Linked DNA regions of Homo sapiens: all the other regions are linked to region 2. The links are contacts of gene promoters, found by promoter capture Hi-C in blood cells and fetal thymus (Javierre and others, 2016). All regions are on one chromosome and are shown on one strand. The core of a region is centred on a gene start or on the middle of the fragment in contact, and the rest is flanking DNA. Distances in the headings are between cores, read along the strand shown.

Evidence for each region. Contacts are between HindIII fragments. The CHiCAGO score rates a contact against its expected background, and 5 or more counts as called.
Region 1: a fragment that was not itself captured here is called in contact with the fragment with the promoter of RAD18 in region 2 in 1 of 17 cell types (total B cells); the score reaches 6.2 in total B cells.
Region 3: a contact is called between the fragment with the promoter of SETMAR here and the fragment with the promoter of RAD18 in region 2, in 1 of 17 cell types (total CD4 T cells). The highest score is 6.7, in total CD4 T cells.

What each region holds. Positions count from the first base shown.
Region 1 is chr3:12,484,813-12,489,334 of GRCh38, reverse strand. TSEN2 (tRNA splicing endonuclease subunit 2) reads right to left here. Exons shown (of 12, transcript NM_025265.4): 1 at 4,455-4,522. Among named protein-coding and RNA genes, the nearest start is that of TSEN2, 2.6 kb to the right of the region's middle. RefSeq lists an enhancer at 4,512-4,522. The HindIII fragment of the contact is 809 bases long and covers 2,868-3,676 here.
Region 2 is chr3:8,961,524-8,965,723 of GRCh38, reverse strand. RAD18 (RAD18 E3 ubiquitin protein ligase) reads left to right here and starts at 2,252. Exons shown (of 13, transcript NM_020165.4): 1 at 2,252-2,389. The coding sequence starts at 2,339. RefSeq lists an enhancer at 2,235-2,404. The HindIII fragment of the contact is 5,728 bases long and covers 1-2,712 here.
Region 3 is chr3:4,302,040-4,306,219 of GRCh38, reverse strand. SETMAR (SET and mariner transposase domain methyltransferase) reads right to left here and starts at 2,851. Exons shown (of 3, transcript NM_006515.4): 1 at 2,694-2,851. The coding sequence starts at 2,849. It also overlaps a transcript of SUMF1 not described here. RefSeq lists enhancers at 2,414-2,483, 2,512-3,254 and a silencer at 2,574-2,913. The HindIII fragment of the contact is 4,274 bases long and covers 1-4,066 here.

The DNA.
Region 1 (4,522 bases), core at 2,023-4,522, 3.5 Mb before region 2:
TTGCAGGCACTTCATTTTCCAAGAGGATCTTACAATACACACTAAACATTGGGTCAATCAGCTCCCAATTTTTAAAGTACATTAATAAATAATAATGACAGCAGCAGTTATTTAAGGGTCGATTATATACTACCAAATGCTACTGGCTTCAAGCAGGGACTCTAAAGCCAGACTATCAGCATCAGAATCAACTTTACCACTTCCTAGCAGTGTGATTTTGGGCAAAAGTCACTGACTCTCTCTGTGATTTAGTTTCCTCACCTGCAAAATCAAGATAAGAACGACTCTATCTTACAGTTAAGATCCATAAAGTGCTTAGAACAGTACCTGGCACATAGCGTGTACCATTCATGTATCAGCTATAATTAGTATTACAGGGTGAGCAGTAGCAACACCATTTTACAAATAGGAAACAGATTCAGGTTAGAGAGATTTGTAGACGACCCCGAGTGTGGTGGCATCGGGTGACCCAGGTCTGTTGAACTCCCAAGCCCATGCCCTCTCTCTAGATTCTGCTGAAAGCACAGGCAGGGTCTATCTACTTTTGTCTGATGACTCTTTCTCAAAATCAGACGGTGAAGGGTTATTGAGCAGTAACGGAATTACCCACTGTGCACCCAGCACCATGAGGGAGAACAGAAAGCCAAAGCCAGTACGTGTCCCTCTGGGGCCATACATTGGATCCAAGGAGACAAAACAAGTATATAACATAGCTGGAAGCACAGAAAGCAGGTTGGAGCTAACGGAACTGGCTGTTATCCACTAATGTCTAAAGGAGGGAAGTAAATGTGAACATATTGTGTGATGCAGACACAGAGATACAGTAGATGCACTTAACCTAGGAAAACGTAACCATATACATGGGAAAACAATGTAAATGGTGCAAGACATTCCACTCGAGGAGCAGCTGTCCTGGAATGAGATGGGAAACTTGAATCTGCTGCTCCCCCAGTACTAGGTCTAGACTTGATTTCAACTGAGAGCTTACCTGGTGCTTGAAGATACAGTGCGGCCAAATCATACACACGTTTAACCTACATGACTCCGAATCCTCACAAGGGAAAAAATAAGACTAATTACTTAGGTGGCTCCTGCACTCAGTACTTGCATCCCATTGGCAAGGGATGCCATCAAGCCTGAAACAGTCAAGAAGGTGGCCAAAACTGAGGGAGGGGAAGGTGAGTGGCTTTAAGAGTGTCATGACCATTAAGAAAAGGCTTATCCAACGTGTGATGATATCAGTATCCAACTTCTCAAGGAAGAAGCTGAGGAATTATATGAGGACACAGAAAAACACAGACTAAAGAGGAGTTAGAGGAAATGATACATCAATTACAAAGATAACCATGAAAAAGAAGAATCGGGAAGTTGGAACCTTCCTAGAATTGCCATTGTTCTAAGCAGCAACATGCTAGATTAATTTCTAAATAAGGTTCCTTGAAGGAATTACATACTGAGCATTACTTTGTACATTTTATATTTATGCATGCATCTTGCTGTATAGTGTTTATAACAAAACCACGTCTACTGCATGCTCACAGGAAACCTAAGAGATTTTCTTAAGAGCATATTTAGACTAGGCTTTACCTTGCTTGCTGACTTATCCCTCAGCCCAAGTACTAAATTATCACATTTAGTACTCAATTGGAGAGACAATAATTTATTCTAAAACTGAAAATAAACACTGCTTTTTGGGGGCAGGATGTTGGTCTCTAGTAAGGCACTTTTTGAAAGACTTCCAGGAATGGTTTGGACTTTTATGGGATTTTTCACTTTTATAACCTCTGCTCAGCAGCTGACTTATATACATTACATTCGGAATTTTAAAAAAATGAAAAAAGATTTAATGGCCACCTTCAAGAAGTTCTAATAAATTCTCTCAACAAATAAGAGTTGTATTTTAGTCTGCCTCATTTGTTCAGCGTTTTTCCCTCTCAGACTGCTGTCACATCTAAAAAAGGCAAGATTTAGCTGTGACACTTGATCGAAAGAACTCTGTACTCCAACCCAGGTGTGTGGGATGGAAGGGTCCCTGCGACAAAACACCCCTCATAATCCAAGTTCTTGTGTTACTCTTGCTCATGTGGCTGCACACCCCTCAGGAATTTGGCTCGCAGTAGGCCTTCCAGACATGCAAAGCCGCCATTATTATTGTGTGACCTTGCACAACCCACTTTCTCTAAGCCCAGTTTCATCTTCAAATCGAACAGGACTGGAGGAGTCTGGCAGTTCCTCAAAATGTCAAACACATAGTTACGACATGATCCAGCAACTCCACCCCTAGGTATAGACCTAAGAGAAATGAAAACATATGTTCATGGAAAAATTTGTATGTGAATGTTCACAACAGTATTATTCATAATAGCATCAAAGTGGAAGCCATCCAAATGTCCATCAATAGTTGACCAGATCAACAAAATGTGGTCTATCCATATAATCAAATACTTAGCCATAGAAAAGGAATGAAGTTCGGATACATTCTTCAACACCTGAAAGCATTATGCTAAAAGAAGTCAGACACAAAAGACCACGAGACAATTAAGATAAAGTTTCCGGAATAGACAAATCCATAGAGACAGATTACCAGTTGCCAGAGACAGGGAAAAGTGGGAAATGGGGGGGCGACTGCTAATAAGACAGGAGGTTTATTTTGGAGGGTGACGAAAATGTTTTAAAATTAGATTGTAGTGATGGTAATGGTTACATAACTCCGCGAATACGAAGACCACTGACTCGTACATTTCAGAAGGGTGACTTTTACAGAATTATATGGTATCTCAATAAAGCTATTTTAAAAAATTCAGAAGTAAAGACATTCCCCAGGCCATGTCCTGCAAGAATGACTTCACAGATACCAGCGTGAAGCTTCTAGAAAAGATAGAAAGAAACCCTCAGGGAAGGTAGAGCTCACTTCCCCAGGGGGAAAAATTCAAGAGGACAAATCAGATGATCTCTAGTTTCATGGAAGAGTCCTCCTGTGCTGAACTCGAAAGGCAAAGCAGAGGAGAAAAGACTGCATTTACCATTCCCCATATCTGCAATGGATATTCAAGAAGGTTCTTTAGTGTCGCGGCAGAACAGCATGCTGTAAGAGGTGGGATGTGAGTAAAATAAGAAGAGGAAACTGTCATAGGTAGGTACCAGATGCCAGAGGCACTCACTGCATGTGCTGCACATGTGGGTACTATAGTCATCCCTTGGTATCCACAGAAGGACTGGTTCCAGGACTCACCCCCTACCAAAATCCGCAGCTCAAGTCCCTTAAATAAAATGTAGTATTTGCATGTAACTTATGCCCATCCTCCCATCTACTTTAAGTCTTCTCTAGATTACTTAGAATACCTAATACAATGTAAATACTAAATAATTGTTATATATATATATTTTTAAATTTCTTTTTCCAAATATTTTTGATGCAACATTGGTTGAATCCACAGATTCGGAACCTGATAGCGAGAGCTGACTGTACTATCCTCATTCCACAGATATGAAAGAAGAGCGGTGCCTGAGGTGCACAAAAACATATAGGAAAGACTGGGTCAGTTGTCAAGAGGTTTGGGATGCAAAGGTTGGTTTGGAATTGGAGTCACTGCAGGTTATTTAGAATGATGATTGAAAAATGCAGATTAAGAAAATTAAACCTGGGAGTGGTACATCACACAGTGGCCCTCAAGCTTACCTACCCTTAACTCCTCATGCCCAGGCCTCACCTGCAATCAATTACATCAGAATTTCCTGGGTGGACCCAGCTGATTTTAACATATAGCTAACCACTGGTAACAGCAAGGTCTATTCAAATTCACTTAATCCCAGTAGCCCCCGGAGGTAAAGACTATTTTTATTTCCATTGTACAGATGTGGAAAGTGACTCGGAGGGGCCGGGCGCACCCCTGAGAAATCTTTACTTCTTATTTCCCCAACCTGCGCAACCTGACTCCAGAGCTGCATATTCTTACTTTCTATTAAAAGCAGAGTCTGTTTCTTATTCTTCCCTCGAGCACACAGGCTAACACCTCTTAGGTGATGGTAAATGTCTATTAGAAAAACAAAAAAGGGAGAGGTGGCTCCATTTAATTTTCCAACCTTCCTGGACTAGGTGCCAAACAAACCTGGTTAAAAAACCTCCTACCCAGCAAATCTCACCTTCTCCCAACCAAAACACGCTTCAAGCTCCATCTGCGCACCTCCTGGGCTTAGGGAGGCAAGGATGAAAGGCACAAGGTAAACAATCCTGCCTCTGGGGAGCTTTCAAGTTAGAACCTGAGAATAAGCCATATAAACAGATGACCAGCCTTTGAAAGTTGTTGTCAGGATTAAATGCATAATTTTGCAGAAGGCGTTTCGTTCGGGGCCTACCACGTGGAAAGCGCTCACCAGACGACAGCTGCAAATAAAATAAACTGCGCACCCCAACAGCGTTAGGGGCCCCGCCAATTCCTAACTCCCTGTCTTACCCCTTTGCTTCTTTCCTTGACTACCCCCACACCCGACCGAACTCCACCAGAGGCTGCGGCTCCTCTCG
Region 2 (4,200 bases), core at 1,003-3,502:
GTGCTGGGCAGAGAGGAACAGGATGAAGAGAACCTGGAAAGGAGCTCAGGGGCCACAGGACATCCCCAGGTTAATCCAGGGCAGGCCCCACACTCAGTTGGGAGAATGCTTCTCTAATTAGGGTTGTCAGATTTGGCAAATAAAAATACAGGATGCCCAGTTAAATATTTGAATTTCTGGTTAAACAACAAATAATTGGTTAATAGGTTGTGTGCAATATTTGGGGCAGGTTTACACTAAAATGTTGTGTGCGGTTCATCTGAAATTCAGATTTACTGGGCAACTTGTATTTTATCTGGCCATCCTATTCTGGCTTCTCGCTGTGTGCTATGTGCCACAGAAGATTCCACTAAACACTAGCCTGCTTTTATTTTACATGGAACATTTTGTTTTTAGTCCTGAATAAGGAAGTACAATCTCTTTATTGATCTAACAGAAGGAGAAAGTCCATACAAACAGCAGCTTGTTAAGAGGAGAATGGCTCCCAGGGTTAGATAAACACCCAAGACAAACGCCTTTTCCTGAGCTCAAAGTGCGCTTGTTCTTGAACTTTCCTTCCTGGGCCTAGAGGTGGGCTTGATGGGATCTATCACCCTGGTGCTGCTGAAGATGGCAGGAAGAGAAATGCTCAGCCTGGGAGGAAAAGATTTATGGGAATGTGGGCTTAGTCGGTGATTCATCCATTCATTCAGCCTCACCCACCAGCTATTGGCAGACACTCAGAGATGAATGGCACCGCATCCTGTCCTGGAGGCTCTCCATAGATAGGGAAATGTATTTTGGCCCCAGGACTAACAAGTACTGCCTCCTTCCAAATCTGTCTCCATGGTTGAATGCAAAAAGTACATTCCTGTCCCTGTCTTTTCTCTCTCTCCCTTTCTCCTTACCCATTCTTTCTCTTTTTTCTCATCTCCTCTCTCTTCCTCTCTCACCTTCCCAGCCATTTGTCACCTTAAACCTAATTACCTTGTCCAACTAGTAGTGTGAAAAAAACAATTACTGGTTCACTCAGGCCACGGACCTGGTCTTAAATGCTTTTCCTTTGTCTCTCCAAGACCCCACTTCCTCCACATCCAGAACTATCCGACATTTTCCAGCTCAGCCTGGCATTCATTTGCGTTCATTTGCATGCCGTTCTATGATTGGCTGATACAAAGTGGGGGGCGGGGGTGGACACCGTAAACCTCCATTCCTCATGCATTTAATATAACATGTATGAAAAAAAGTATCTATATTTATATCTCGTTTAAGAAAAAAATTGTTCAATGATACTTGTTAAAGCACAATAAGGAAGACTTAATCAGGACAATTCAAGTAGGTATAGAGACCACTGGAACTGTGTCTTGCAATTGGTGAAAACTGGGCTCAACTCTGAATACAACATGGGCAAATGGAAATTTATAGCCAGGAAGCAGGGTGGGGAGCAGTGCATGAAAAATTACTAAGAGGAAACATCAGAGGTAACAGTAGATTCTTGCTGAAGAGGCCAGGGTGATCAGACATCAACTGGGGGATGGTGGAGGATGAGGAACACATCAGATATCAAGAGTGATCACATATCAAAGGTGGGGATTCTTGGTAACTTGATTTAGCAGGGTTTTTTGCTAAAACTGGATTTTTACAGGAAGTACACAGATTGGCCTAGGAGAAGGTTCAGGAGCCTGACTAAAGTTTGCTCAAGCAAAGAATCTTCGTCAATCTGCATAGGAAATATCTAGAAGGCTATATGCCAAAGTTAATGGTGCTTCTCTCCGAAGAAAAAGAAAAACCGTGCATTAAAATTTTAATATGAATAAAAGCAACAGCTCCCATTTAAAGCCCAGAGGTCCTGTTTGGAATCTGACTCGAAACTCTATCCACTTTTTCGGGCGTAGGCTTCTCTTGTGTAAACTGACAATGATAACATCTACCTCCCAGTGTTGTGATACGGGAGACATAAAGTAATGGATATAAAAACTTCTGTTCAGAGCAAGGACGGATAGTCACTGCGATTAGGGTGGGCGACCCGGAGGGGGGTCATGAGCCTGGACCTTGACAGATCTGGTGAGGTCTGGATTTGGTTTGATTCCTGGCTATCTTTTCTTAATATTCAACTGGCTCTACGCTTTTTAACCATTCACTTTCTTCAAGGTAAGTGCGGCAGAAGCCTGGCGCATGCGCAGTACAAGCCCTTAAGCGGCGCCCCGCCCACATACTACTACAACTTCCGGCAGGCTCCGCGCCCGCCTCTGGCGCGTCGCGGGCTGCTGACGTAATGCGGTAGCGCGGGGAATTTCGAGTGGTGTTGGAGCGCCGGAGGCTAGTGGGTGGCTGACCCCCAGCATCCTCGGGAGCGACCATGGACTCCCTGGCCGAGTCTCGGTGGCCTCCGGGCCTGGCAGTCATGAAGGTGAGTGCTTCGGGGAGTTTGGGAGCTCCCGGGTGTCTGCGGGGGGAGGTCCCTCCCTTTGAGGAGGATGTCCTCGCCTTAAGGAGAAAGGATGAGGCGCGAGCGTCGCACTGGGCCCGGGTATCCGGCTCTGCCCTGCCACTAGCCGACCGCGTGGCTCTGGGTCTCAGTTTACTCCTCTGATAAGTGACAAGGACAAGCCTGGTGAGCTGAGGTTGGCAGTCTTATGGCACCAGCTATTCTGCGATCCAATCCCAACAATAACATGGAGAAAAACAGTTATTCCAAACAATGACATCGACAGCTGTTCTTTACTGAAAGCTTACTTTGTGTCAAGCACTAAACAGTGACACCGGACATGATTTTGGGTGGACACTTTATCAGATAACATGTATGTAATCACGTAGCCAAGCAGGTAGTCTCCTTTACAGGCTCTTTCATTTCTTCTGATTATTCTCAATAAACGTAGTGCTCGTTTGTTCTGACATACTGCCCCAACTCCTCTCTAACACACCTTCACTCTTCTCTAACAATTGCTCATGTCTCTTAAACAGAGATCAGGACTCAGGCTCAGCGCTGATCTTGCATTGCGTCTGATTATTTCACTTAAATAACATTTATTTTTGTGGCCACTTTCTGTTTTGGCAAGGCATACCAGTTTCCATTTACAGTAGTGGTGGGCCCTGGATTTGCTCAAGAGCAGATGCACTTTGCTGTGCTGGATAAAGATCAGTTGCTTGGTGTTTCTTCTTGCTCTGTGATTATTTCCGTTTCTCACAGTGGCTAAGATAGCCTTCTTCTCCCTCAGTTTTGTAGACTTGGGGATTATAATACCTGTCCCACTGACTCATAAATTTGACTTTAGAATTAAGTGAAGGCTAAAGTAAGTAGAAGGCCTTGTTCTTCCTGCTGTCATCAGTGACGTCTAGAGTGCTTGGGGACTTGAGATATCTGCATGATGAGAAGCTGACATTGTGAAATGATCCAGGAAAGCTGTAGTTTTGGAGTTGTGGGCTTGGCACCAGGATGCAGTGGAGAAGAGCACAGATTTGAGTTCCAGTGGTCCTGGGTGAAATCTCCTGTCTGCCTCTTGACTGTATGACCTTCGGTTAGTAACTTAACCTCTCTGAGCCTGAATTTCTTCAACTATAAATTAGAGACAAAAATAACAGTTCATAGGATTGATTAAATAAATTAGTTGATGTATGTGGGCACAGATTCTGCTGTGTATTCACTGTGCTTACTGCAGTGCCTGACACCAAGTGGGTGCTCAAATATTATTTGCTGCTTGATTGAAAGTATCTGGAATGTAGTAAGCATTCAATGAATATATTTTATTATTATTAGCACTGTGTTAAGTGCTTCTTTCCCCTTTTAATTTGTTGTCATGAAGCTTGACTTGGATAAGGAAAGTAAAAGAGCTCTGTAACCTGTAAAGCTCCTGCTTTGTAGATTTAAGCACACTTTACATATTCCCACAATTTCAGTGTTCTTTAGAGGCGGGTTCCATGTCTTCTCTGACTTTGGTATCTCACCACAGCACTGAATGTAGAGTTTGGCACCACAGAGCGTTCAGTGAGTGTTCAACCAGAGAGTTGATTGAGCCCGTATTTTTTTGCTCACATTGGAATCATGGAATCTTAAGGTTAGAAAACCAGCCCCTTTCAGTATTTTAATCTCCTTTATAACACATCTGCCAATTTCTCACCTAATTTTTGCTTGAACTCTTCCAGGCACAAAGAACTATCAGATCCCAGAAGCAGATCTGACTGAAGTTACTTCTTTTATTGAATAGAAGTCTGACTCAGAAT
Region 3 (4,180 bases), core at 1,602-4,101, 4.7 Mb after region 2:
CTTGGATATGGCAAAGAAAAATATGACTCAAGATTGGAAACAGATTTATAGAATAGTCTCAAACGCACACACACACGCACGGCAGGAATATTGAAGCTAATCGTGACAGTTGTAAACACCTTGAGGGTAGAGTGCGTTTTTCTGTTTGTTGTATTCTTTGCAGCCCAACCCACCACCTTGCATATATTTAGCTCTCAATAAATATTTGTTGAATTAAGAATGGACTAGAACAGTGGTTTTTTAAATCAGTGTTTTTGACCAGGAACTCAGCAATGCTTAGTCCTAAGTTTTCAGGGACCACTGTTTAATATTGGGCCAGCTAACTGTATTATTAACTATAAATTGCCAAAGGTAGTCTGGGGAACAATAATAATTTCTGACATTAATATCTTATTCTACTCTTTGAGGACTAAACTCTGATTTTTTCTTATCTTGCCCAAATTCCTACCCAAGGCACCTGGGGAGTCATGCCTTACAAACCATAAAGTCTCATCAGAGGAGTTTTAATTTTAACCCTATATAGCATGGTCTGCTTTCTACCTGACTCTGGCATAACATCAAATAACAAATAAGGGAAGAAATCAAAATATTTTAACCCCAAATATATTTCCTTGCCATATCTTGAAATTGCCCTGGAGGGTTGTCTCTTGTGGGAAAAATCCACATTCTATAGAGAATCCCCTTTCCCCCTCTTTTTCTTTCTTTCCACAACAAGGAGATAATCAACTAAGACCGAGGCACCTTTTTAAGTTAGATAAGAAACATTTTACAACCTGCTCCCTCTGAAGTCAGCTGGGAGTCTCCTCCCCACAATTAAAACTTGGGTCTCTACATGGCCGGGTGCGGTGGCTCACGTCTGTAATCCCAGCACTTTGGGAGGCCCAGGTGGGTGGATCACTTGAGGTCAGGAGTTTGAGACCAGCCTGGGCAACATGGTAAAACCCTGTCTCTACTAAAAATACAAAAATCAGCTGGGCGTGGTTGTAGGCGCCTGTAATTCCAGCTACTCGGGAAGCTGAGGTGGAAGAATCGCTTGAACCTGGGAGGCGGAGGTTGCAGTGAGCTGATCGCACCACCACACTCTAGCCTGGGTGATGGAGTCAAGCTCCGTCTCAAAAAAAAACCCTTTATCTTAACCTAAACATTTCTATTGATCCCAGGTCTTCAGACAAACTCAACCAATTGTTAACCAGAAAAATTGTTAACCAGAAAAATTAAAATCTACCTATAGTCTGGAAGCCCCCCCCACCACTTTGAGTTGCCCCGCCTTCTGAACCAAACCCATGTACATGTTAAATGTATTTGATTGACGTCTCCTCTCTCCCAAACATGTATAAAACCAGGCTGTGCCCTAACCACCTGGGACACATGTTCTCAGCATCTCCTGAGGGCTGTGTCACAGGCCATGGTCACTCATATTTGGCTCAGAATAAATCTCTTCAAATATTTTAGAGTTTGATTCTTTTCCTTGACATCTTTGAAAGCTGCTATTGAATCTCTTATCTTATCTGATCCTCACAAAAACCCCTAGGAAAAAGAAAGGGCAGATAGGGTTCATTGTTGATAATGGATGTTAAAGGGGCTATGCATTTTTAAATTATTATTTTCATTTTGCAGATGAAGAAACTCAGGCTCTGGGAAGTAGCTAAGATGTCTAAGCTCCGAACCATACTCTCCAACTTCCACGTCCAGCGCTCTTTCCACTTCAAAATCTTTGGTCATTCCTTATTCCTTGGGTAACGCTCAGGCCAAGGTCGGAGGGATAAGAAAGTCAGTAGAGGCTGGGAGCGTGGCTCATGCCTGTAATCCCAGCATTTTGGGAGGCCGAGGCGGGCGGATCACCTGAGGTTGGGAGTTCGAGACCAGCCTGACCAACATGGAGAAACCCTGTCTCTACTAAAAATACAAAAATTAGCCGGGCGTGGTGGCCCATGCCTGTAATCCCAGCTACTCGGGAGGCTGAGGCAGGAGAATCGCTTGAACCCGGGAGGTGGAGGTTGCGGTGGGCCGAGATCGCGCCAGTGCACTCCAGCCTGGGCGACAGAGCGAGACTCAGTCTCAAAAAGAAAAAGGAGAGTAGAAAGGGCTTTGAGGTAGTTAATAGAAGCAAACATTTACTGAGTTCTTACAGCAAACCGGAAAGTGTATTTTCCTTGCCATTTTCAAAGCACTCCGGAAGAGAGGTACTGTTCCACTGTACGCTGGAAGACTCTAAGGCTGAGCCACAGCTAATTTACACTCGCCCAAGAGCCCACAGCGTGAGGGAGACCACAGCTAAGGCTGACTCGAGGGGCTGTTTTTATGCACGACACCGGCTGCGATCCATTAATAGGCCCCACGGCTTATCCTACCTGTGAGAGACACCTGAGACCAGGGAGGTAAATGACTCCCCCCGTGATGCCTCCTTGAGTTCTGAGGACAGGACTGGACAAAAAGCCAGGTTCTCACAAGGCCTCCGGTTCTGCGCTTCAGGGAATGGACTGAAAAGGACAACACCCTTGCTAAGGTGATGCCGTGGGTCAACAGAAAAAGGCCCAGGCCGGGGCATGCACACCTATTCCCGCGCACCAACGGGTGCGCTGTAAGAGAAGACAAAAGGTCGCGACTGGGAGGCCGTCCCAGCGAGGCGGCTTGAGGAGACCACGTGGGGGAGCCGCGCGCCCGCCTCCCGCGCCGCCTGGCCCCGCCCCTACCTGGAAGGGCGCCGGCGCGGCCCCCGGGGGCCACGCGCCCACCGGCAAGTTTTCCTGGCCGCACGCGACATCCAGCTGCTCAGTCGGGGCCTCAGGCTTCTCCTTAAACTCCGCCATCCCACAAGGCCGTGTCGTCTTTGCCGCTTCCGCGAACATTTACCCGCCTCACGCAACGCCCACTACCCTGACAGTCCTGGGCCGCGCGGTGGATGCTGGGACTTGTGGTCCCGTGGCCCCACCGCCTCATGGGAATTGTAGTTCGTTTCTTCTCAGGAGTGGCCTGGAAGGCGCTTCCCTTCCTTGACTTTTTGGGTCTGGCTCCCGTTTTGATTTCAGCCAGAGGCACCACAGATAATTACAAAACCATGTAAGGTACGGACGAAACAAAGTGAGGTGCTTTAGTTTTTCCTGGGAGCATCAGAGAGGGGGCTTTCGAGGTGAGGTCATTTGTCCAGGTTTTTGAGGGCTCACTGCACGTTTGTGGAGTGGAGGCAGGGGTGCGTTCTAAACCGAGCGGGGAAACGCACACCAAGGTTTCTAAAGGTCTGCGGCTTGCCGGGAAGTTGACTGACATGTGATAGGGTTTGTGCCAAGGCGATAGCCTCACAGGGTGCCTTAAGGAATTTGTGTGGGGGCATGCTCACTCCCTGATGGAGGTATCCGTGCCCCTTTGCCTGTCCTTTTCCCTCCTCTCCATCCCTCTACCCTCACCCCTCCAAACCCCTGCCCTGCCAAAGGATTCTGATAGCCTCAAGACTGCTGAATCCGGTGGAGCATTTTCAACCTCACTGAAGCTCTCTGACATGATTGTCCTGCTTCTCCTTGAAACTGTAAACCAAAAATAAAATTCCAATCCTCCAAACCATCTGAAGGGACCCCTCCTCTCTGCCAAGGTTAACCTGAGAAAGTGGTTCAGGCCATGATGGGAAGGGGGGTCCAACATGCCTCATTATGCCCTTCTTCCTTTTGGAATTCAGGAAAAGCCAGCCAGCATCAACATCAACACACACCTTAAGTCTGATAAGAAACATTTACAATCTGTTCTCTGAAATTTACCTCTTGGAGGCTTCATCTCCACGATCAAATTTGGTATCCACAACCTCTTATTGCAACCCAGACATTCGTTTCTATTGATTTTAGGTCTTTAGATAATAACCAGTTGCCAATCAGAAAATCTTTAAATCTACCTATGACCTGGAAGCCACCCCTCACCCGCTTCTCGTTGTCTGCCTTTCCAGATCCAACCAATCTTACATGTATTGATTGATGTATTATGTCTCCCTAAAATGTGTGAGAGTAAGCTGTATCCCAACCACCTTGGGCACATGTCATCAGGACTGCCTGAGGCTATGTTGGGGGCGCATTCTTAAGCTTGGGAAAATAAACTTTCTAAATTGAGACCTGTCTCAGATAATTTTGGGTTCACAAACCCTTCTGACCTTGCAGCTTCTGAGGTCCCATTGGCCTAAATGTGTTTCCATCTTGCA